7 separate regions of the Homo sapiens genome follow, and all the other regions are linked to region 4. The links are contacts of gene promoters, found by promoter capture Hi-C in blood cells and fetal thymus (Javierre and others, 2016). All regions are on one chromosome and are shown on one strand. Each heading gives the region's core, a stretch centred on a gene start or on the middle of the fragment in contact. The rest is flanking DNA. Distances are from core to core; before and after follow the strand shown.

Region 1 (2,789 bases), core at 43-2,542, 1.0 Mb after region 4:
TTCAGACTCAAATCCCTTCTGCTATCTACTTCCGCTTTTAGACAATTCCATTCTCTATTCTTCTGCTTTCTCTATTAAGTCTTCCCAATGTGCAAATCTGCAGTTTCCTTTGGTGGGAACCTTGCTTGTGAAAAAGAAAATCAGAGTCACAGAGATAGAGATGTCATGATATTTAACTTTTAGGAGTGACTGTAGATCTGTCCCAAAGGAAGGCAGACACTCAAGGTCTTCACATACTAGAATTGTTATTGTGTTATGTTAACTAGTTTAAAAAAGAGTAAAATAAATAGAAACCATTTAGAAGCACTATTTTCGCTGTAAGGAAATTGTTCCTAAGGACAGAGTGGTACCTTCCATACCTAAGAGTCATCATCTCTGACTATTAATGTTAGAGCTGTTGTCACATCAATCACTGCATATATAGGTCATCCCACTAATATTAGTACATGTTCTCTAGCATTCCTTTTATTAACAGGATCAAATATTGTTAATTCTATCTCTTTGTATACCCTTCTTTTGCACATCTCCCTTTATTCTCTCCATTTCCCACCTCCTTTTTTTTTTTCGGTTAAGGCCACCTTGGCTTTTTATGCAGCACCTGGTCATTGTTCCCTACCTCTAACCTCTTTCCACGCCTACTCTTGCTACAAACAACACTGTCTGATCAATCCTCTTCAAACAACTTGTTCATATCAATTTCCTGGTGGAAACATTTGATAGTTTCTATGACATGCAGACTAAAAGCTGAGTTCCTTGGCCTAGTCTTCAAGTCCTCTAAGGTCTGGCCCCAATATGTGCTTCCTGTTTAAATGTCCTCTACTGTGTTCACCCCCGCACAAGCATGCACATACACACATGCATACTCCAGTCTGCCTGCACTAACACAGTATCTGCTGCACACAGTTCCACATTCCATCTGTACCTTGGTTCATGCTTCCCCTCAGTCAGACTCCCTTCTTCTTTTCCTGTTACAAAATATGAGCACCTACTATGTGCTGGGTATATTCTACGTATTGGAGATGCAGCAGTGAACAAAACAGGTAAAAATTCCTGCCCTCATGGAGCTGGCATTCTAGCAGCAAGATGGAGAATAAACAAGATAAACAGTTGAAGTATATGGCAGGTTAGAGAGCTGCAATCACTAACAACAAAAACACAGTAGTAGGTGTCACAATTTTACACAGAGAGCAAGGGAGGTCCTTACTGAGAGGTGGCATTTGGCAATACACTCAAGGAAGTGAGGGATCAGGTCTTATGGACCCCTGTGGGAGAGCAACCTAGGCAAAGGAAACAAAAGCACAAGGGTAAGAGTGCACCTGGAGTGTCCAAGGCCTCCAATACTTTCTGATCTTCCCTACATGTAAATCCAGCTACACTGATGACCTGATTCTAAGAACCCCCCAGTTCCCCAAATTGTTCCTGCTCTACCTGTTGGCGGGATTTCTTCTTCCTTTAACCTCTCATAGCACTTCAGTTGGGTATTTCCTACAACCTTTTGTTCATCCAATCAAAGAACTATTATGTTTAAGATTATGGCATTTATCATTCTCTAGCTATGATATATAAATTGTAAGTAGAACATAATTCTGTATATTTATGAGTTTTTTCCTCCCAAATTCTTGGGAGTAGGCTCCATTAATTATTCATATCTGTATGCCCCAATGTGGGTGTCTAGTAAATATTTTTACTGTTTTAAATTTTAATAATTTCTAATTTCCCCAGTAGTTCTAAAAAGGACGTTTTCTCAGTGGTTTCCCCAATGTTTCAGTTGGATCATGAATCTCCTCACTCAGCATCAAAGTGTTTTCCTTTCCTTGATCACTAAGCCCCACCACCACTGACAGCAACTCTTGTCTACACTCACCCCGTGCCTCCCTGCACCCACTATGAGGTTCACGGTCCTTTCTTGTTTGTTTCCTGTCCTAGTCACCGGTCACCAGGTACTTACTGACCACATATTGTGTGGTAAGATGTATTCCAGGCACTATGGAAAAACAGTAGCTATTGATTTATTGAATCCTTCATGTCTATCAGTCTATTCACTCCTCATAATAACTCACTGAGGCAAACATGATGAGCTTTCTCTATGTATGAGAAAACCGAGGCTTTAGAAAGGGAAGATGCTTCCACTAAGGTGAATGAGCTACACGCAGCAGTAGAGTCAAGAGTCAAACCCATGTTTTTCCAACTCCCAAACCATTTCTACAGCTAAACAGTACCGAACAGTATGAAGAGAAAAGGGGAACTGTAATCTACATTTGTGGTTTTGGCCATCCAGAACCACCACCCCACTTCTTGGGATAACAGGCCCTCTATTATTCTTTGGTGGACACATTCTCCCTCTCTCCTCTAAGTAAATACTACTTAAGATTTAGAGGAAGACTTTGTATCTGAGGCAAAGATTAATGAGACTATTTTTCTTTGTACTATCAGTAAAATGACCATATACATCTACCATAAATTGGGACACTTCTGAGAGAGAATGGAGGTACAATTAATAATCAAGCTGCAATGACAGATGTGAATAAAGAGTGCCTGGGAAAACCAGACCTATGGTCATCCTGTCCATCAGTCCACCTCCTTTGGACTAGGTGACTGTCTTGGGAAATTCTGGATGTATCTCCTATTATAGAAGTAGACTCCTCTTTTCTATTGGACTGGGTGACTGTTCCAGCTAAACCAGAACACATGGTCACCCATCAGGAAAGTGAACTCCTCTCCTCTACTGGATTGGGTGTTGTATTGCTGTGGAACTGAAGCTGCCATGGCTCACCACATGGAACATGAAA
Region 2 (3,056 bases), core at 264-2,763, 1.1 Mb after region 4:
CGCTTTTCATACATCATCTTATTTTATCCTCATTAAAATTTTATCTCATATTCCAATTTTACAGATGAGAAAACTGAGGTTCAAGTGATGTTAAGAAATTTTCCAAAATCACAAAGGTAGTGACAGAGTTGGGCTTTGGCTCTATGCAAGAGTAAGTCCCAGGGCCATGTACTTAAAAACTTTGAAACTATACTTAAAAACCTTGTTTTCCTGCGTGTTCTCTAATGCCTTATGACCATCCACTCATTGAGGCATGCTTCTTAAAACCTAATATAGTGGTCCAAGCACGTGTGGTCATTTTAGAAGCATGAGAAAGAATTATTGAGAAGTAGCCTGGTTTAGATTGTTAGGACATAATGAAAGGATTATGTTTCTGAGTTAAGTACCATACAATCACTCCCAGCCCTAGCCAGTCCAGAAAGGATGACCAGAAGGTGTCGTCCTTTCATAGCAAAGACCTTTTGCTTAGGGATTTCTCTAAGTTAAACTAAGCAAAGGAGGAAGAGCAAGACAACACTGTGGCATTCATACCACTGCAGTTCCCGTGCCTTCTAGTTAGGCTGCAGACTCTATGCTGGTTCCTCAGTTCCGACTCTGTGCTACCTTTCCTGCCATCCCACCACCCCTCCTGCATAGCTTATGCCCTGTTCACTGTACACCCAGATACTGCTGCCATAGCCCTTGGTACATGTCACTGTACAGTCATGTGTGGCTTCATGATGGGCACACCTTCTGAGAATTGCATGTTAGGCAACTTTGTCATTGTGCAAATATCACAGACCGCACTTACGCAAACCTAGATGGTATGGCCTACTATACGTCTAGGCTAGATGGGATAGCTTATTGCTCCTAGGCTACAACCCTGTACAGCATATTACCGTACTAAATACCGTAGGCAGTTGTAGCACAATGGTTGAGTATTTGTGTATCTAAAAATAGAAAAGGTACAGTAAGTATACAGTATTATAATCATACAGGACCACCATAATACACAGTGCGTCATTGACCAAAATATCATTATGTGACACATGACCGTATTCACTTCTTTTTCATGTCTCTCACCCATGACTAGACTGCAAAGATACTTATTTATCCCTTACTAATTTATGCCATACCCTGGGCCTTAGTTTAGCGTCAGGTACATAGCAGGCACTAAATAAATGTTTGAGGCAGGAAGGTAGAGAGGAAAAAAGGGAAGAGAAGGAGAAAAGGTAGAAACAATGTAGAAATATAAATTGAGACTCAAATTATGTATGTCCTGGTTGACACGGCATCATTTTAAAATCATGTGGTGTATTTTCACCTTGGTAAAATAAAAGGGTTTATTGAAACTTTAAAATTACTGAACTATAATGCTTTAAGTAACCGTGGGAAAACAAACATTCAATATCACCTATGCAGTACAATAAAGCTTCATATATTTGGATTAATTGTGCCAAGAGTAAACCAAAATTCGAGAAATCCTAGAGCAGAGATTCCCAAAGTGTGGTGCCTGACCCCACCAGCAGCAGTGCCACTTGGGAGACGGTTAGAAGGCAAATTCACAGTCCCCACCCCAACCCACTGAGTCAGAAATTTCAGGGTTGGGGTCTGGCAATCTGTTTTAGGAAGCTTGTCCACCTTCCCCCTTTCCCCACAACCCCTTACTCTGGTGATTCTGATGCCTGCTAAAGGTTGAGTATCACTGGCTTAAAAATACTAGATAGAGTGGAGAGATGAAAACTTCATTGTTTAGGCAGACCTGTTTGAGCTTCCCCACCCTGCCATCAGATCCCAGGCTATTCTAGAGGCTTTAGTGCCACTGAATGGGCAGACGTCTTTGAACTTCATTATGAAGTTCTATGAAACAAGCCAGGTAAAGAGATGAGGGAAAAGGTGAGAAGAAGAGGGCTACAGAAAGTAGATTGCGGTATACAAAATATTAAGAAACTGGCTCAAGAACCTTTGCTAGATAAAAAACTAAAAAGTCAGACAGATGATTCCAGACCGGGCAGTGGAACCACAGATCCTTGACAAGCTGACTTGGTCTTGTCCTGAAGTGACCTGGAGCCAACATCTCCCCAGAGCTAGGGTTTGACTTTCCCCTGAGAGTTTCTTTTCACCTTGTCCTGTCAACTTGGCTGGGAAAGCTGGCTGAGCAAAGCCATATTGCAAGAAAGTTGAAATGTTTCTTCTGAAAAGAAAAATCAGGTCTTACTAAAGAATAAAAAATAAAGCTACTTGAAGTTTGAGAAGGTTATTTGCCACTGCTCAAGGTGCAAAGATTTCCAATTTAACACTAGCATAGTCCAATCCACCCAGGTTCTGTCCATTTGTCCTTGATTGGACATTATGAATCACAAGAAGAAAACTACTCCATTGTATGAATCACTGTCCCCATTCCCCTTTCCATTTCTGGTTCAATTGACACTTTTGTCTATCCACTCACAATAAGGTTAGCATGGCTTTGCTAGCTACTTATAAAGTTGTATTATCCAAAAAAAGGTGAAGCTCCAAGTGTGATATAAGGATGATCTACGATAGCTACTAAAGCTGAAGAAAGTTAGGATTATACAAACTTACTCCCAAATAAAAGCATGAGAAACATGTACATTACCAATGGAATTCTAAAAAATATATTCTATGTGGCTCTTCTCTCACTTCAAAGATAAAGGAAATTTTGAGAAAAACGTGAATGATATTTTGGGATGTTATGAAAACTTTAAGTACTATTTTTAGTACTATGAATAATTCTTGCAAAGCATAGAGTTATTTACTAAGCTGGAATGCCCTGGCTTTCTCCACATGTTCTGAAAAGAGCTCCATTCCTTTCAGGACCATAAACAATGGATCGTTAGCTTCTGGAATCATTGCATCTACATCCTGAAATAAGAGGAGAGGCACTGTTTTGTGCCTACATGTGATGAAGGCCTAAAGAAAACCCACTAGATTTCAAAGAAACTTTCTAGTTACCTTGAAAAATAAAGGCCAAAAATTTAAATGGAAAAATAATTTTGACATGTCAAGGACTGGATGGGGAGCTGGTTATGAAAGGCACGGAGAAGCAGCAGAGGTGG
Region 3 (2,941 bases), core at 373-2,872, 1.1 Mb after region 4:
TGGTAATTTTCTTCTCTTCCTTATATTTTTCCTCTACAGATTTTTTCTTTTTTTCTCTTTTTCCAGTATATGCTTTTTAAACACACCTTGTTTCACCTAAAAACCAGATACAGATGAAAAGCCATTCTGTGGTGGTTTCTATAAATCTGGGCACTATCTATGGCCAACTTCCCAGTCTATGGATATTCTAGGATCTTATTTTTAGTAAGAAGTGTTTAGATTATAGCTACTCTACTTGTGACTATCATCAATGCAAGTCCAGGGAAATGGTTCATTACTAAAAACTCAGCTATCGTTTTGACATTAGTTTTCCCAATTATTTTCCTGTCCTTCCCAGCATATCAGCCATGTATATAATTGAACTCTTATGAGTTCTTTATTTTATATGACAAATACACATATTTCATTAATTTCTCAGTAACTACTTCTCTATAATAACTATTCTCTTGCAGACACACCATTCTTGAATTTAATATTTGCTTGCCTATTTAGCAGTTGGATGAGAGTATTATGAGAAATGTGAGGTACGTGAGGTCACATCTGACTAGCTCCTTTAATGGAAAGAAAGAAATTATCTGTGTTACTGTATACTTCAGCTAAGACCAAAAAAACATGAAATTTCTCCACATCCTCACTAATACTTGTCTTTTTAAAATAATAACCATGCTAGCAGGTATGAGGCAATATCTCATTGTGGTTTTGATTTCATTTCCCTGATAATTGTTGACATTGAACATGTTTGCATGTATTGGTTGGCCATTTGTATGTCTTTTTTGGAGAAATGTCTATTTAAATCTGTCGTCCATTTCTTAATCAGGGTATTAGTTTTTTTAAAAAAACTTTTGAGTTGTAGGAGTTCTTTATATATTTTGGACATTAACCACTTATCAGATTTATGGTTTGCAAATATGTTCTCTCAATCTTTAGGTTGCTTTTTCACGCTGTTGATTGTTTCCTTTGCTGTGCATAAGCTTTTTAATTGGAGCACTTGCACACTGTTAGCAAGAATGCAAAATGTTGCAGTCTCTATGGAAAATAGTTTGGCAGTTCCTCAAAAAAATAAAAATAAAATTGCTGTATGATCCAGCAATCACACTTTTCAGTATCCATCCAAAAGAGATGCAACCATAATCTTGAAGTGTTATTAGTACTCCTATGTAAATTGAAACACTATTCACAATAGCCAAGATGTGGAAACAACCTAAATGTTCATTGACATTTGAATGGATAAAGAAAATGTGGTATATTCATGCCACGGAATACTATTCAGCCTTAAAAAGAAGAAAATTCTGCAATATGTGACATCATGAATGAATGTTGGGGATCTTATGCTAAGTGAAATATACCAGTCACAGAAAGACAAATACTGCATGATTCCACTTACCTGAGGTCTCTAAAATAGTTAAATTCATAGAATCAAAGAGCAGAATGGTGGTAAACAGGCTGAGGGGGAGGGGAAAATGGGAAGTTACTAATCAAAGGCATAACATTTCACTCAAGCAAGGTGAATAAGCTCTAGAGATCTGCTATAGGACATTGTATCTATAGTTAACAATAATTTATGGTACAAATTTTTGTTGGGAGAGTAGATCTTATGTTAAGTGTTTCTAACACAGACACACACACACACACACACACAAAACAAAAAACAAAAACAAAAACAAAAAAAAACGAAGAACAAAAAAGCCTCGGTGTTTTTTCTTAACTTTGAGATGCTACAAGTCATTTCCTTTTACTTTGTAGTTTTGTGTATATTTATATTCTTATATTTTTATTTTGCTAGTATGAAAAAGGATTTGCAGTCTCAAGTGATAGTATGAGATAGCAATTTTAAAATTCAAGGAGAGGCAAGGAGAAGTCAGGCAGGGATTTTAAAACAAGTAAAATCCACCAGGTGGATAATACATGTGATGATATTGGCAGTTAACCAGGTGAACTTAAAGTCTCTTCCAGTTCTGGGAGTTCTTTATTCTATGACTTTGGTGTTTTACAATGAGGACTTGCCTTCATTCTCTGTTCATATGAAGCCAAGACAACAAACTAACAGTGTCTATGAGAAAGAACTATTTATCATACCATTTTATTTGTGGATATGTAACTGATTGGTTTTCAATGAGTTGTTTCAGTATTTTATAAGTTCAGCCACAGGTTTACATAATGGAAGCCTTAAGAATTACTTGAATTACTAAGAAAAAATTCCCACTTATATGTTGATCATGTTTTGTTTCTTTGCTTTTCCTAACAAGGGCTATAATTTGGGAACCAAAGCTTTTGTTTGTAATTTAACATGTGACCCCTAGTACCTAATAGTGTACCGGTATACCCTAGAGGAACTCCAGAAGTACTCAGTAACCATCTATTAACCTAAGAAAATGTCCAAAATTGTTTCATTTCTCCAAATCATTGAGGGGGGCCATGGTTGGTTGTTTTCAGGCTGTTTTCCTGTCTCCATGCAGTTTTTAGTCCAAGAAATTGAACAGCAGAGTTTACTCTGGTCATTTTCTTCTTTATCACTGTTCCAAGACCACCAGGCAATTATTGCTAGCACTTACATAAATACAATTATCAGTGGCAAACTTTCTTCTATACTACTGTATAGAATGTGAACCGTGATTGTTCTCTAGGCTAATCTTTCATTGGCACCAATGGGTGATCCCAGACTGAATTTATGAATTAATAATAGGGAGCTCTAAGTGTCGGGTTTCATTTTATGTTACATCTTTTACCACCACTAGGCTCAAAATAAATCCTGCTAAGAATAGCCAAGGAGAAAAGGCTGTGGGTGGCATAACAAGGGCGACTGAAAGGCGGGTGTCTCAAAGGCAGGTGTCTCATTCACTTTAAGTGTTTACATAATTTTATGTGAAGTTTTTTTTAAAAAAAATGTGTCACTGCCTTCAGTGCAGTGTCATGTCACCTCTGCAAGGGTTTGGATTCAAAT
Region 4 (3,010 bases), core at 47-2,546:
AAGTAGGCCACTGCCTGCCCAGCGTGGGCTGGGAAGCAAAACACGCTCCCCAGTTCCGGCCCAGAAATGTCCCCAGCCGGGTCAAACGTGGGTTACAGCCTGGAGGGAAGGAGCAAGGAAAAGGGCGCACAGACCCAGGAGGCTGGAGAGCGCAGTGTGGACTAACTCGTCGAACGAAGCCTGCGCCGGGCCCGGGACTCAGCCCGAACTGCGCGTCGGAAGCTGAGGGTCCGCGGCGGCGGGAAGGGGCCCGGCTGGGAGAGGCCGGCAGGCAGGCGCCAGGCGAGCGGGCGCGCACGGGGCCCGGCCAAGGGCGCGCGGGGCCGCCTGGGGGAGGGGGCCGGCGGAGGCCCGGGCGTCGAGGAAGTGAGCGGGCGGGCGGGGTAGGGGGCAGTCGGGAGGCGGGAGAAGCGAGCTGCCCCAGCGGCCTCTCACCTGTGTCGTCCCCTCGCGTCTGGGCGGCTGCGCTGCTGTTGTGGTAGGACTGGAGGTAAGGGCTGTGCTGCGAGTGGCTCATGTAGGGGTAGGCGGCGAGCGAGCGGTGGTTGTAGGAGTTCCCTCCGCCCGACGCGTAGGGCGAGCCGTGGTGGTGGTGCTGGTGGTGGTGGTGGTGGTGCGAGCCGGCCGCTGCCGCCGCCGCCGCCGAGTGCAGGCAGTGCAGAGGGTAGTGCGCGCCTGCCATGGCCGGGGAGCTCTGCTGCGAGTGCGGCTGCGGCGGCGGCGGCGGCGGCGGCGGCGGCTGTTGCTGTTGCTGCTGCTGCTGCTGCTGCTGTTGCTGCTGCTGCTGCTGCTGCTGCCCGAACTCCATGAAGGCGGATTTGGACGAGTCCTGGCCTTCCAAGCCGTCAGCCATCGTAGTCATGGTCATCATCAAAAACTTTGGGGGCTGGAGAAAGCCTTCTCCCGGGTTTCCTCCACCCTCCCCCACTTGGCTCGCGCCGCTCTCCCCTCTGCAGCCACCTTAGCTCTTTGGATCCTTGCAAAAAAAAAAAAAAAAAAAAAAAAGAATTTAAAGAGGGGGGTGGAGGTGGTTCTCCCTCTCCCTCGCTCTTCTCTAATATATATATATATTTAATATAAAGAGATATAGTGAGCGGGGCCTTGTTAACTCAAAGGGAGGAGGAAGGAGGAGGGATGGGAGAGGAGAGGGGGAGGGGGGAATCTGCTCTCCCCCCGCCTGCTTTCCCCCCTTGGATTTTTTGGGGGCTGGTGCAGTTTAAGGCAGAGATTTTAAGGTGGATTCTGCGAAAGTTGCGCGTCTGCTTTCAGACTTGATGCAGACGCCACGAGTCGAATGGTTTGTCTCCAAAGGGCAGTGCCTCCCCATTGGTCAGTCGCCCCCTGACGTCACAGGCGCACGGCTTCTACTGGCGTGTGCGCGACTTGCAGAGTTCTTCGCCTACCTTCCGCAGTTCCAATCCCAGCCGGAGCTGCAGCCGGGGGCCGCGCTGTGTGGCGCCCGGGGCCGTTGGGGAGGGAGGCGCCTCTGCCCGGCCGGCCGCCGATGCTTCCCGCCGCAGCTCGTGCCCCAAATCCCGGAGCCCCAGTTGCCAATATCTCAGCCTTGAAACAGCCAACTGGGGGCTGCTCTCTTTCAATCCCTTTGCACCCTTGTAGGTTGCCTGTGCTTAGAAGCAGTGACCCCACCCCCGCATTAAATCCAGGCCCCCCTTTCTTGACGTCCCTGCCACTCTGGTCCTACTACACTCTTGTGGGAGCTCCTTGTCACCGTGGATTTTTCTAGACGTATTTTATTGAAACCACAGAAGGAAGACGAACCCTCACACCTGGGCTCCACCCCACTGGGGGGTGGTACAGAAAAAGAAAAATCAGACCCTGTTCTGGCTCGGTCCCTGCCGTTTCAGGCCGTATTTCTTATATATTGTACAAAAGGTTGTGGGGGGGGGGGGCGTCTTTTTTTTCTTTTCAGAACGCAGCAGCGTGTTCTGAAAACGAATCGTTGGAGGACTGACAGTAATGCATTTTTTCCTATTGAAAACAGAAGCTACTGTAATGCTTTCAAATATATGCAAATGATACATGCGGTTAGTGGTTTGGCAAATCTTGATTACAATATAAACTACCCAAGTAAAAGTGCCTTCGTCCTAAATTTGTCTCTCGATTACAATTCCAATTGATTTTATTTTATTGTCAACATTGTTAATGATAAAAATAGAGTCGTTTTACAGTTATTTTTACTTTCTGGAAGGAGGCAATTAGAGTTCTAATCAGGAATACACAAAAATCTCCCATGATTAACTGCAGTACTTTGTTCAAATTGCTGCTATAAAATTCAGAACAATTTGCCTGTAATGATTATGGACTGGGTTTATTTTGGGAGGTGGAATAAAAGTGGATATAGCATAAATTATCCTCTAATTATACACCAGTGTCGCCTCAATTATCCTCTTATCAAAATGGTTGTCTAACTGCCGCATTTAGTTTCAATTCTCTCCTTTTTTTCTATAAAAAGAACTTCATACCTTGTTATTATTAATCCATTTATTATTTGCAAGGGGATTTATATCCGCACATCCAGGTGGTAGAACCACTTCTCTTTCAAAGATGGACTGGGGAAAGACATTAAGTTCGGAGCAGCCCAAGGCTGCGGATCTAGCCTTTCTCCCTCCGGTCTCCAGACCCACGCAGGTTAAGGCAGCCAAGCAGAGACAGCGGAGCCCCGGTGCGTGGTTCAGGCCTGGTCAACAGGTAGGAGGGCCAGACTGGGGGCCAGGCACAGAGGAGGGCAGGCCCGCCCGCACCGGCGTCCAGGGTCCCGGGTTCCGGGTCCCGGGACTGGAGGAGGTCGCCGGCAGCCCGCCCTTCCAGAGGCTTGAGATTGGGTGGACGAGACCTGAAGATCCTCTCGGTCTGGACCCCGACTTTCGATCTGCTTAGAGACCTAAGCCGCGAGCCTTTGCCCACACGGAGAAACGTACTATCTAATATCTAACAACCCTGTACTGCAGTGTCTGGAGGTTGCGGGAAGGAGACAGTGTCTCCCTTTGGG
Region 5 (3,066 bases), core at 379-2,878, 1.1 Mb after region 4:
GACGCTCTCAAGCTTGGCACATTTCTCCAAGAAGACCACCTTCCTTTAAGCTAAACTGACACCACCTTAGGATTTAGGGCTTAGGGCTCAGGGCTCTTCACCGAGCAAGCCTGGGCAGATGGTGCTGCAGGGATGTTCTAGTCCCACCTGAAGCCGCTATATACTGTGTCTGGACTTGCCTAAGAAAGTGGCCATCAACAAGCAAGCTATTGCCAACCCTAGTTACTCTGTAGCAGCCCAGCTTCTGCTATAATTTGTCCAGCACCAACACTTCACAGACTGAAGGCTAAATGCCTTCTGCCGGCTCTTCTCTCAGATAACTGCCCTAGGAGGGGAAAGGTGGAGAAGATGGTTTCTCTTGCCTCCCTCTCAAGCTGACTCTGAACTGAGGGTCCATCATCAGGGCTAGCAGGCCCCGCTTTCACTCAGCCCTAAGGTAATTAGTGGCATAAGACAGGATACTATTAGCTTGGTGCAAACATAATTGCAGTTTTTGCATTGTTGAAATTTGCTGTGTGATATTGGAATACATTCTTAAATAAATGTAGTTATGTTATATATCACTTTAATGGCCATTTCTCACTTTTTTTTTGCTAATGACTTATTACTTGCTGTTTATTTTATATTTATTTTAGACAATGGAAATGATGTTAGACAAAAAGCAAATTCGAATGATTTTCTTATTCGAGTTCAAAATGGGTCGTAAAGCAGTGGAGACAACTCACAACATCAACAACGCATTCGGCCCAGGAACTGCTAATGAATGTACAGTGCAGTGGTGGTTCAAGAAGTTTTCCAAAGGAGACAGGAGACTTGAGATGAGGAGTATAGTGGCCAGCCATCGGAAGTTGACAATGACCAATTGAGAGCAATCGTCGAAGCTGATCCTCGTACAACCACATGAGAAATTGCCGAAGAACTCAACATGGACCATTCTATGGTTGTTTGGCATTTGAAGCAAATTGGAAGAGTGAAAAAGCTGATAAATGGGTGCCTCGTGAGCTGAGTGAAAATTGAAAATATCACCATTTTGAAGTGTCATTTTCTCTTATTGTACTCAACAACAATGAACTATACTCCATCGGATTGTGACATGTGACGAAAAGTGAATTTTATACAACAACCAGCGATGACCAGCTCAGTGGTCAGACCAAGATGAAGTTCCAAAGCACTTTCCAAAGCCAAAGTTGCACCAAAAAAGGGTCGTGGTCACTGTTAGGTTGTCTGTTGCCAGTCTGATCCACTGCAGCTTTCTGAATCCCGGTGAAACCATTACATCTGAGAAGTATGCTCAGCAAATTGATGAGATGCACTGAAAACTGCAATGCCTGCAGCCGGCATTGGTCAACAGAAAAGGCCCAATTCTTCTCCACAACAATGCCTGACCACTCATTGCACAACACACAACCAATGCTTCAAAAGTTGAACGAATTGGGCTAAGAAGTTTTGCCTCAACTGCCATATTCACCTGACCTCTCACCAACTGACTTCTTCAAGCATCTCGACAACTTTTTACATGGAAAATGTTTCCACAACCAGCAGGATGCAGAAAATGCTTTCCAAGAGTTCATTGAATCCCGAAGCACAGATTTTTATGCTACAGGAATAAACAAACTTATTTCCAGTTGGCAAAAATGTGTTGATTGTAATGGTTCCTATTTTAATTAATAAAGATGTGTTTGAGCCTAGTTATAATGATTTAAAATTTAAACTGTGATTACTTTTGCACCAACCTATTACTAACTAGAAGAATCTATGAAGAAATAGCTAATTCCTAAGTTTGAAAAGAAGATACACACTCTTACACCCTATGCTTGCAGTGCTAATACAATAGACTAAATGTTTATGTCCCCCCCCCAAATTCAGGTATTGAAATCCTAACCCCCAAGGTAAGGGTATTAGATGTAGGTCCTTTGGGAGATAACTGGGGATTGGTACTCTTATAAAGAGACCCTAGAGAGATCCCTTGCCCCTTCTATCATATCAGGAGACAGAGAAGATGCTTTCTATAAACCAGAAAGCCAGGCTTCACCAGGTGCCAAGTCTCCTGGAATCTTGATCTTGGACTTTCCAGCCTTCAGAATTGTGAGACACAAATTTCTGTTATTTATAAGCTACCCAGTTTATGGTGTCTCATTATAGCATTCTAGATGGACTACAGCAACTAATAATCTGGGATGTTCCAGGATGCTTTGCATGGGTGGATGAGGGAAGGGCAGGTATTTACAATATCACTTGATAGTAGTATAATATCAACATGTTAAATAGTTATCAAATTTCTTCATAAGTAACAGCAGAGGCTTCATCAGAGATTCTCATTGTTTGGGAAAGGGTTATCCACTGAGGAACCGAATAAATTTTCACATCACTTCAAAATTTTCTTTCAGTCTTTCACAGGGCAGACTGCAAAGAGATTCCAAACCCAATTCTCCAAGTCCCAACCCAGTAAGCACACTCTACTGTTTCATTTAATATTTTTGTTTCCTGTTCTTTCCACTTGGCTTTGTTTGACATCTGTCTATATTAACTATATTTTCCACTTACATTACTAGCTCTGGCAGCTCAAAGAAACAAACCTTTTGAGTCTGGCTGCATTATTCCTCAGTATTTCCTAGATCTCTAGGTTTTGCATCATCAGCAGTCTTTGATACCTAAATCTGTACACTTGGTAGTTGACATTCATGGAGTGCCAGCAAGATGATGGACCTTGTATAGGAACAGGAGTAAGGCACATGTTCTCAGCCAAGCAATTATGGGACTATAAAGCCCAGGCAACATTTCTTATATCAAATTTTAAGGAAGTTATTGGGAGTGGTGTTTAAGATTTGTCATTTTTAGATATTTAAAAAAGTCTAGACGTTTGCAAGCCAAACTGTTTAACACCTAAAGAAACCCTTTAATATAGTATCATTTCTGCTATATAAATATCACATGCTTTCCTGTCCTTCCCTTCTCTGATTATGGAAACCCAGGGAAAAAATGAAGAAACACATGAACAGGACTTTCTTGAGTCACAAATCCATACTGCAAGTGCTAGTGAAAGCACTCCCTTATTTATATTTCTCA
Region 6 (2,733 bases), core at 151-2,650, 1.2 Mb after region 4:
CATTCTCACCAGTACCCTCAGCTTGCAAATTGCACTGAATATTCCCTTTTCAAATTTACTAACACTGATCAACGTATATCTCTATAATTTCCACAATTAAAGTATGTACACAGACTGGTTACCCATGTCTGTGTTAACATCAGGCGTTGGGTTGTCACCTGCAGTTGCCTATGCCTTACTGTTAGCTATACTTTTTGCTAATCTGGAATATTTGGAAGCAATTCTTCACAACTCTGAACTACAATAAGTCTACAATGCCCACTTGAAAGGCATTCCAAGCAAGAAAATGGCTGGCTACTTGTTCCTGCCCCTTACCTAGGATTAGTAGAGGCCAGAATAGCGAATATATTCCATCTTCTGCATGTTGTTGAGTCTCTGATCTCCTATGTAATTTCCTGTCCTGATCCTGGGCTTCTGTTTAATCTTATTAGCCAAGGTACAAGTCATGAGACTCCCGCACACTCAGTTCCCATCAGCGCTGCCAGGATCACTGCCCTTATGATGACGACGCACGGATTTATAAGGCCAGAGCGATTCCGAATGGGAGCGGGGGAAGGAGAGCCAGGCGGCCGTGAAGGTGTTTACCAAAACAACATCCCCCAGCCACACTTTTTCGCAGCAGAGAGAAACTGGCATCTTCTCGCTTTGAAGTGTTTAATTAATGCCCTGCTGGAAGTGAATTCGCTCCCTCCGACTTGCAGGGTAGTGACAGCATCTAAGAGCTTTGCAGACAGCTCGAAATGTAATCAAACAGCATCCTTTCCCCTCCCTCTGCAGCTTTCCCCCTCCTCCAGGGGCAGTCAGCCGGTGGCCCAGAGGGGTGCAGATTTCAGCGCCGCTCGCCCACTGCTCCCCCGGGGAAGACCGAGGCGGGGCGCACTGGGACGCCCTTCCCAGCCCACAAGGTGGGCGACCAGGTGGTGACACCACGACCCTTCCTTCTCTGCCCTAGTCTCTCGGCTCTGCCGAGAGGGGGGTGTCACTGGGGGGCTTTGGCCGCCTTCGGGCTCAGCGGAGCACGCAGGAGCCTGGGCAGGGGGCCAGGACAAGGGTCCGGCTGCGGCTGCAGGGGCCTCGGCTCCAGCCTGGTTCCCAGCGCAGACGACACCGGGGTGGGGAGGGTTGGGGAGAGGTGCGGAGGCGGCCGTCCGGGGAGCGGCGACATCCCGCTCCAGTTTACCTGGACGCGCTCGGCAGCGGCGGAACTGGGCTCCCCGAGCCGGCGGCGGCTCCTGGGCGGCGGCAGCGTTGGTGCAGGCGGCTCCCGAAGGTGGCGGGGCCGGCGCGGGCAGGATGTGCTGTCTCACGCTGCGCCGGCCGCTCGGCTCGCGCTCCTCCGGGAGCGATCACTTCCTCTCTCCCAGAGCCTGACACTGACAGCTCCCCGGAGCACTCAGTCTGCGGGGCTCGCCCCGCCCCCTGCCCACGCCCTCCACGCCCGCGCCCCTCCTGAGGGAGGGCCTCCGCTCCGCGTCTTCCGCGCCCGGTCTCGCCAGGAGGGGGTGGCGCCGCTCCGTAGGCTGGTGGCGAGCAGAGGACCTGGAAAGGTCAATTCGTCTATCCCTCTAACGTCGGTAGGACTTAGACCTCAGTTGCTGCAAAGAGAAGAGCTTCAATATTCTGGGAGCTCCTGCTGAAATGCCACCATTGAACAACTTTCACTCCCAGGCAACTACACTTCTTAAGGTCATTTAAATAGAAATAAAGCTCAGATCTACCTGTTGTACACAATGACTTATAGGTCTGATTGATCCCAATTTTTCTAGAAGAAAAAAGAATTAAGTGTGTGTGTCTGTGTGTGTGTGTGTGTGTGTGTGTGTGTGTGTGGTGTGGTGTGTGTGTAGCTTGTCTTCACATTGCTTCTTAAAGTCCCAGCTTTTAAAAATCTGGGTAACTGGCCAGACGCGGTGGCTCACGCCTGTAATCCAAGCACTTTGGGAGGCCGAGGAGGGCGGATCACCTGAGGTCGAGAGTTGGGGGACCAGCCTGACCAACATGAAAAAACCCCGTCTCTACTAAAAATACAAAATTAGCCGGGCGTGGTGGTGCATGCCAGTAATCCCAGCTACTCGGGAGGCTAAGGCAGGAGAATGGTTGAACCCGGGAGGCGGAGGTTGTGGTGAACCGAGATCCCGCCACTGCACTCAAAGCCTGGGCAACAAGAGCGAAACTCCGTCTCGGGGAAACAAAAAAAAATCTGGGTAACTATTATTGGACTCTGCAAAAAACAAGCTTGCCACAACAGCTAAGTTATAAGGCCAAAAAATTGAGTTTGGGATGTTAGGGGGTTTGGTATCATTTTATAGATGAGCTTTTCATCATATTTCTTGCACATCTGTGGTGTATTTTTACACATTAGAATGTAAATTAGTGGAGGGCAGGGACGCTATCTTGTTCACTGCTGTATTCTTAGTATCTAGAACAGCATTCTGATATATAATGGGTACTCAGTAAATATTTATGAACTTATTAATTCACAAGTACTACAGTAATTTCAAAATAAATACAGATTCTAGTATGAATACAGTATGAATACATACTCATCTGTAAATGGCCATCCTTATTCTAAAACTTTGGCCTCCCTGGCTAATCTACTGCGATTGTAACTATGGCTAGAAATGAAGAGGTTAAATGTCTAGGTAGAAGGTATTCAAGGTATTCCAGAAGGAAAAATCTAGGAAATAAATATTTGCCACTACCGTGACTGAATATTTAATACATGTCAATTCTACA
Region 7 (2,981 bases), core at 57-2,556, 1.1 Mb after region 4:
GAAAATAGTAATATGATTCATGATGTCATAGATGAAATGTGCTTTGAATTGTTTTTCCAGGAGTAACAGGTCTGGTGCCCCATTCAGGCCTTCTTGCCTGGTACTTCCAATAAACCTATCAACCCAGTCCCTGCCTGGGTGAATGTATAGCTCTGGCCATGAAACAGGTCAAAGCTAAAAGGCTTGCAAACAGATCAAATGCACAATTCTGCCCAAGATCAGAGCTTCTCACCTGGTGTGCCACTAAGGGGTCACAAGTGTGTTGTAAGCAACTGATATCCTCAGCCCTGGGATGAGGATGGGGCTACCTCCTTCATTTATCCCAGTGTTCCATGCAAATACTCTGATATTAATGCAAAAAGATTAGGAAGCACAACTACAGACAACTGAATTATTAAACCCATAGCATTATTAGTGAATAGAGACTAAAAATCAGACTCATAATCCAAAAGACTGGCAAGGATGCCATTTCCCTAATTCTATGTGTTACCCATGTGTATTAGTCCTTTCTCATGCTGTTAATAAAGATATACCTGAGACTAGGTAAGAGGTTTAATGGACTCACAGTTCCACTTGGCTAGGAGGCCTCATAATCATGGAAGAAGGCAAAGGAAGAGCAAAGGCATGTCTTATGTGGCAGCAGGCAAGAGAGTGCATACAGGGGAACTGCCCTTTATAAAACCATCAGTTCTTGTGAGACTTATTCACTATCACGAGAACAGCATGGGAAAACCTGCCCCCGTGATTCAATTACCTCCAACAGGGTCCCATCCATGGCACCTGGGGTTTATGGGAGCTACAATTCACAGTGAGATCTGGGTGGGGACACAGCCAAACCATATTACCATGTCCAGCTCTCTTTCATATGTGTGGCACCATGCCCCCACCTCCGCTCAAGAGCTCTGTTCTATTTTTAGATCAGGACCACTTTACTTAGCAAGGATCAGTTTATGAAATTTCAAGAGAACTAAAAAATAATATTTCTATATGAATATGAAGATGCAAACACATTAACATCTGTTTTTTCCCACCCAGGATAGAACCATGAACTAGGCTCTGGCTCCTAACCAGAGGTGCAAGTAATGAAAGAGACACTAGCTCACCTTAAGCAAACAAGCCAAAGGAAAAGTCTACATAAAAATATTAACAGACTATTTTTGCCAATAGTGGTAGAGCATTAATCAAAGGGATTTAACTAGCTTGCTTTCTTTCTTTTTTTTAGCCAACTTGCAAAAGTTGGTTCTCATTTTGGGAGCATGGGGGAGTAACTATTTCCAAGGATGCATGAAACCAATCCACTGCCACAATACTAAGATACAGGAAGTCCATCTTGGTCTGTAGCCCACCAATCTCCTGCCTTTGAGGTGGTCCTCCCACTGTTTAGAAGCTGATTCAGACAAAGGCAGAGGAAGGACAAAAGTGTGGGTTATTAGTCCTTGACCAGGGCTGGTGCTAATGAGACTCTAGACAATGGACACAAACAGATTGCCTTTCCTCCTCCCGCCTCCAAAGCTGCCTGGCATGTTGGTCAAAGAGGGGGCAAGCCTGCATGTCTGGCTAGAACGGTTCCTTCTCTACTGCTAGAGAGGTGCCTCAATGGGCATTCTTCTGGCAGGAGAACCTGCACATGATCAGAACATGATTTCTCATTATTAATTATTCACTCTATGTCCCTGCAAATCAAGGAGTGGGAAAGACCAGCTCTTCAACCTGAGCCACATGCACTGCACACCCTGAACAAGAGAGATTAAACGTATCAAAGGCAAATGTCCTCATACCACGGAGAACAGAACAAGCCAGATAAACTCCTTCACTCCAGAACTGCCTTTCCTCTCCTTTCTTAGCATCAAGATGTTCAAGTGGGCCAGGCATGATGGCTCAAGCCTGTAATCCCAGCACTTTGGGAGGCCAAAGCGGGTGGATCACCTGAGGTCAGGATTTTGAGACCAGCCTGGCCAACATGGTGAAACCCCCTCTCTACTAATAATACAAAAATTAGCCGGGTGTGGTGGCACATGCCTGTAGTCCCAGCTACTCAGGAGACTGAGGAAGGAGGATCACTTGAACCTGGGAGGTGGAGGTTGCAGTGAGCTGAGATCACACCACTGCACTCCAGCCCAGGCAACAGAGCAAGATTCTTTCTCAAAAAAGAAAAAAAAAATGATGTTCAAGTGATGAGTGAGTGCTAAACAAGCAGCCTTAAAAAGTTTGGATTACCTGTTCACAAATTTGAGTGCTTGGGAATTCATCCTGCAGATTAGGGCATGCTTTATCATCTCTGAAGTCTTCTTACAGATAATCTGTAACTAGTTGCAGTGACCTTGAAACACTAGCTATACACATTTTTCTAATTTATCTTATTGGTAGGATAGCCCCCTTTAAAGTAGTGGTTCTCAAGATGAGATCCTTAGACCAGCAGCAGCAGGTGCTGACCTGGGACCTCACCACACGTGCAACTCACAGACCTGACTTCAGACCTGCTGAACCAGAAGGTCAAAAGATGAGGCCCTGCAACCTGGTTTGAACAAGCCCCCCAGGTGATTGGGATGCATGCTCAAATTTGAGAATCACTGCCTTAGAGTGTGTTATTTCCTGCTTCCCTAGTGTTTCAACTATTTCCTAAATGTAAGCTTGGGCCTCTGTGTCCTTCATGGGCACATTTCCAATCAGCCACTTCTCAGGAGGAGTGCTTGATATTGTTCCTTCCCTCCTTGCTTTCCTTCTTCTCACCTCTGGTCAGCCTTTTTTGACCCTTAACTGAAGCAGAGAAGTACATACCACCACTGCCTCAGTGTCACCTGTGTCACCTCTGTGGGGTCTCTCCACCGGCCCCACTCCAATAATCTGCCTCATTCTCAGAATCTGAATGCCTTCCTCCTCTGGACTGGACTTCTCCTCGCCATCATGACTTACCTCCTGGCTTCAGATCACTTCACTTTGGTCACTGACAAGTTCGAACCTCCAAAACTGTGAAGTTTCCC

What was found. Contacts are between HindIII fragments. The CHiCAGO score rates a contact against its expected background, and 5 or more counts as called.
Region 1: a fragment that was not itself captured here is called in contact with the fragment with the promoter of DLX6 in region 4 in 1 of 17 cell types (total CD4 T cells); the score reaches 6.4 in total CD4 T cells.
Region 2: a contact is called between a fragment that was not itself captured here and the fragment with the promoter of DLX6 in region 4, in 1 of 17 cell types (non-activated CD4 T cells). The highest score is 6.2, in non-activated CD4 T cells.
Region 3: a contact is called between a fragment that was not itself captured here and the fragment with the promoter of DLX6 in region 4, in 11 of 17 cell types (monocytes, total CD4 T cells, total CD8 T cells and 8 more). The highest score is 12.9, in monocytes.
Region 5: a fragment that was not itself captured here is called in contact with the fragment with the promoter of DLX6 in region 4 in 2 of 17 cell types (naive B cells and activated CD4 T cells); the score reaches 7.8 in naive B cells.
Region 6: the fragment with the promoter of DYNC1I1 here is called in contact with the fragment with the promoter of DLX6 in region 4 in 13 of 17 cell types (activated CD4 T cells, total B cells, M0 macrophages and 10 more); the score reaches 13.0 in activated CD4 T cells.
Region 7: a fragment that was not itself captured here is called in contact with the fragment with the promoter of DLX6 in region 4 in 17 of 17 cell types (monocytes, naive CD8 T cells, total CD4 T cells and 14 more); the score reaches 21.5 in monocytes.

Annotation. Positions count from the first base shown.
Region 1 is chr7:95,965,964-95,968,752 of GRCh38, reverse strand. The region is part of intron 6 of DYNC1I1 (dynein cytoplasmic 1 intermediate chain 1); the gene reads right to left. Among named protein-coding and RNA genes, the nearest start is that of DYNC1I1, 190 kb to the right of the region's middle. The HindIII fragment of the contact is 8,224 bases long and covers 1-2,789 here.
Region 2 is chr7:95,863,556-95,866,611 of GRCh38, reverse strand. The region is part of intron 5 of DYNC1I1 (dynein cytoplasmic 1 intermediate chain 1); the gene reads right to left. Among named protein-coding and RNA genes, the nearest start is that of DYNC1I1, 93 kb to the right of the region's middle. The HindIII fragment of the contact is 200 bases long and covers 1,414-1,613 here.
Region 3 is chr7:95,933,651-95,936,591 of GRCh38, reverse strand. The region is part of intron 6 of DYNC1I1 (dynein cytoplasmic 1 intermediate chain 1); the gene reads right to left. Among named protein-coding and RNA genes, the nearest start is that of DYNC1I1, 160 kb to the right of the region's middle. The HindIII fragment of the contact is 1,297 bases long and covers 974-2,270 here.
Region 4 is chr7:97,003,839-97,006,848 of GRCh38, reverse strand. DLX6 (distal-less homeobox 6) reads right to left here and starts at 1,296. Exons shown (of 3, transcript NM_005222.4): 1 at 436-1,296. The coding sequence starts at 871. All of the region lies in intron 1 of DLX6-AS1 (DLX6 antisense RNA 1), which reads left to right. RefSeq lists a silencer at 446-545 and an enhancer at 1,858-2,579. The HindIII fragment of the contact is 12,379 bases long and covers 1-3,010 here.
Region 5 is chr7:95,893,251-95,896,316 of GRCh38, reverse strand. All of the region lies in intron 6 of DYNC1I1 (dynein cytoplasmic 1 intermediate chain 1), which reads right to left. Among named protein-coding and RNA genes, the nearest start is that of DYNC1I1, 120 kb to the right of the region's middle. The HindIII fragment of the contact is 3,227 bases long and covers 15-3,066 here.
Region 6 is chr7:95,771,221-95,773,953 of GRCh38, reverse strand. DYNC1I1 (dynein cytoplasmic 1 intermediate chain 1) reads right to left here and starts at 1,400. Exons shown (of 17, transcript NM_001135556.2): 1 at 1,181-1,400. The HindIII fragment of the contact is 2,753 bases long and covers 1-2,234 here.
Region 7 is chr7:95,911,218-95,914,198 of GRCh38, reverse strand. The region is part of intron 6 of DYNC1I1 (dynein cytoplasmic 1 intermediate chain 1); the gene reads right to left. Among named protein-coding and RNA genes, the nearest start is that of DYNC1I1, 140 kb to the right of the region's middle. The HindIII fragment of the contact is 2,652 bases long and covers 1-2,632 here.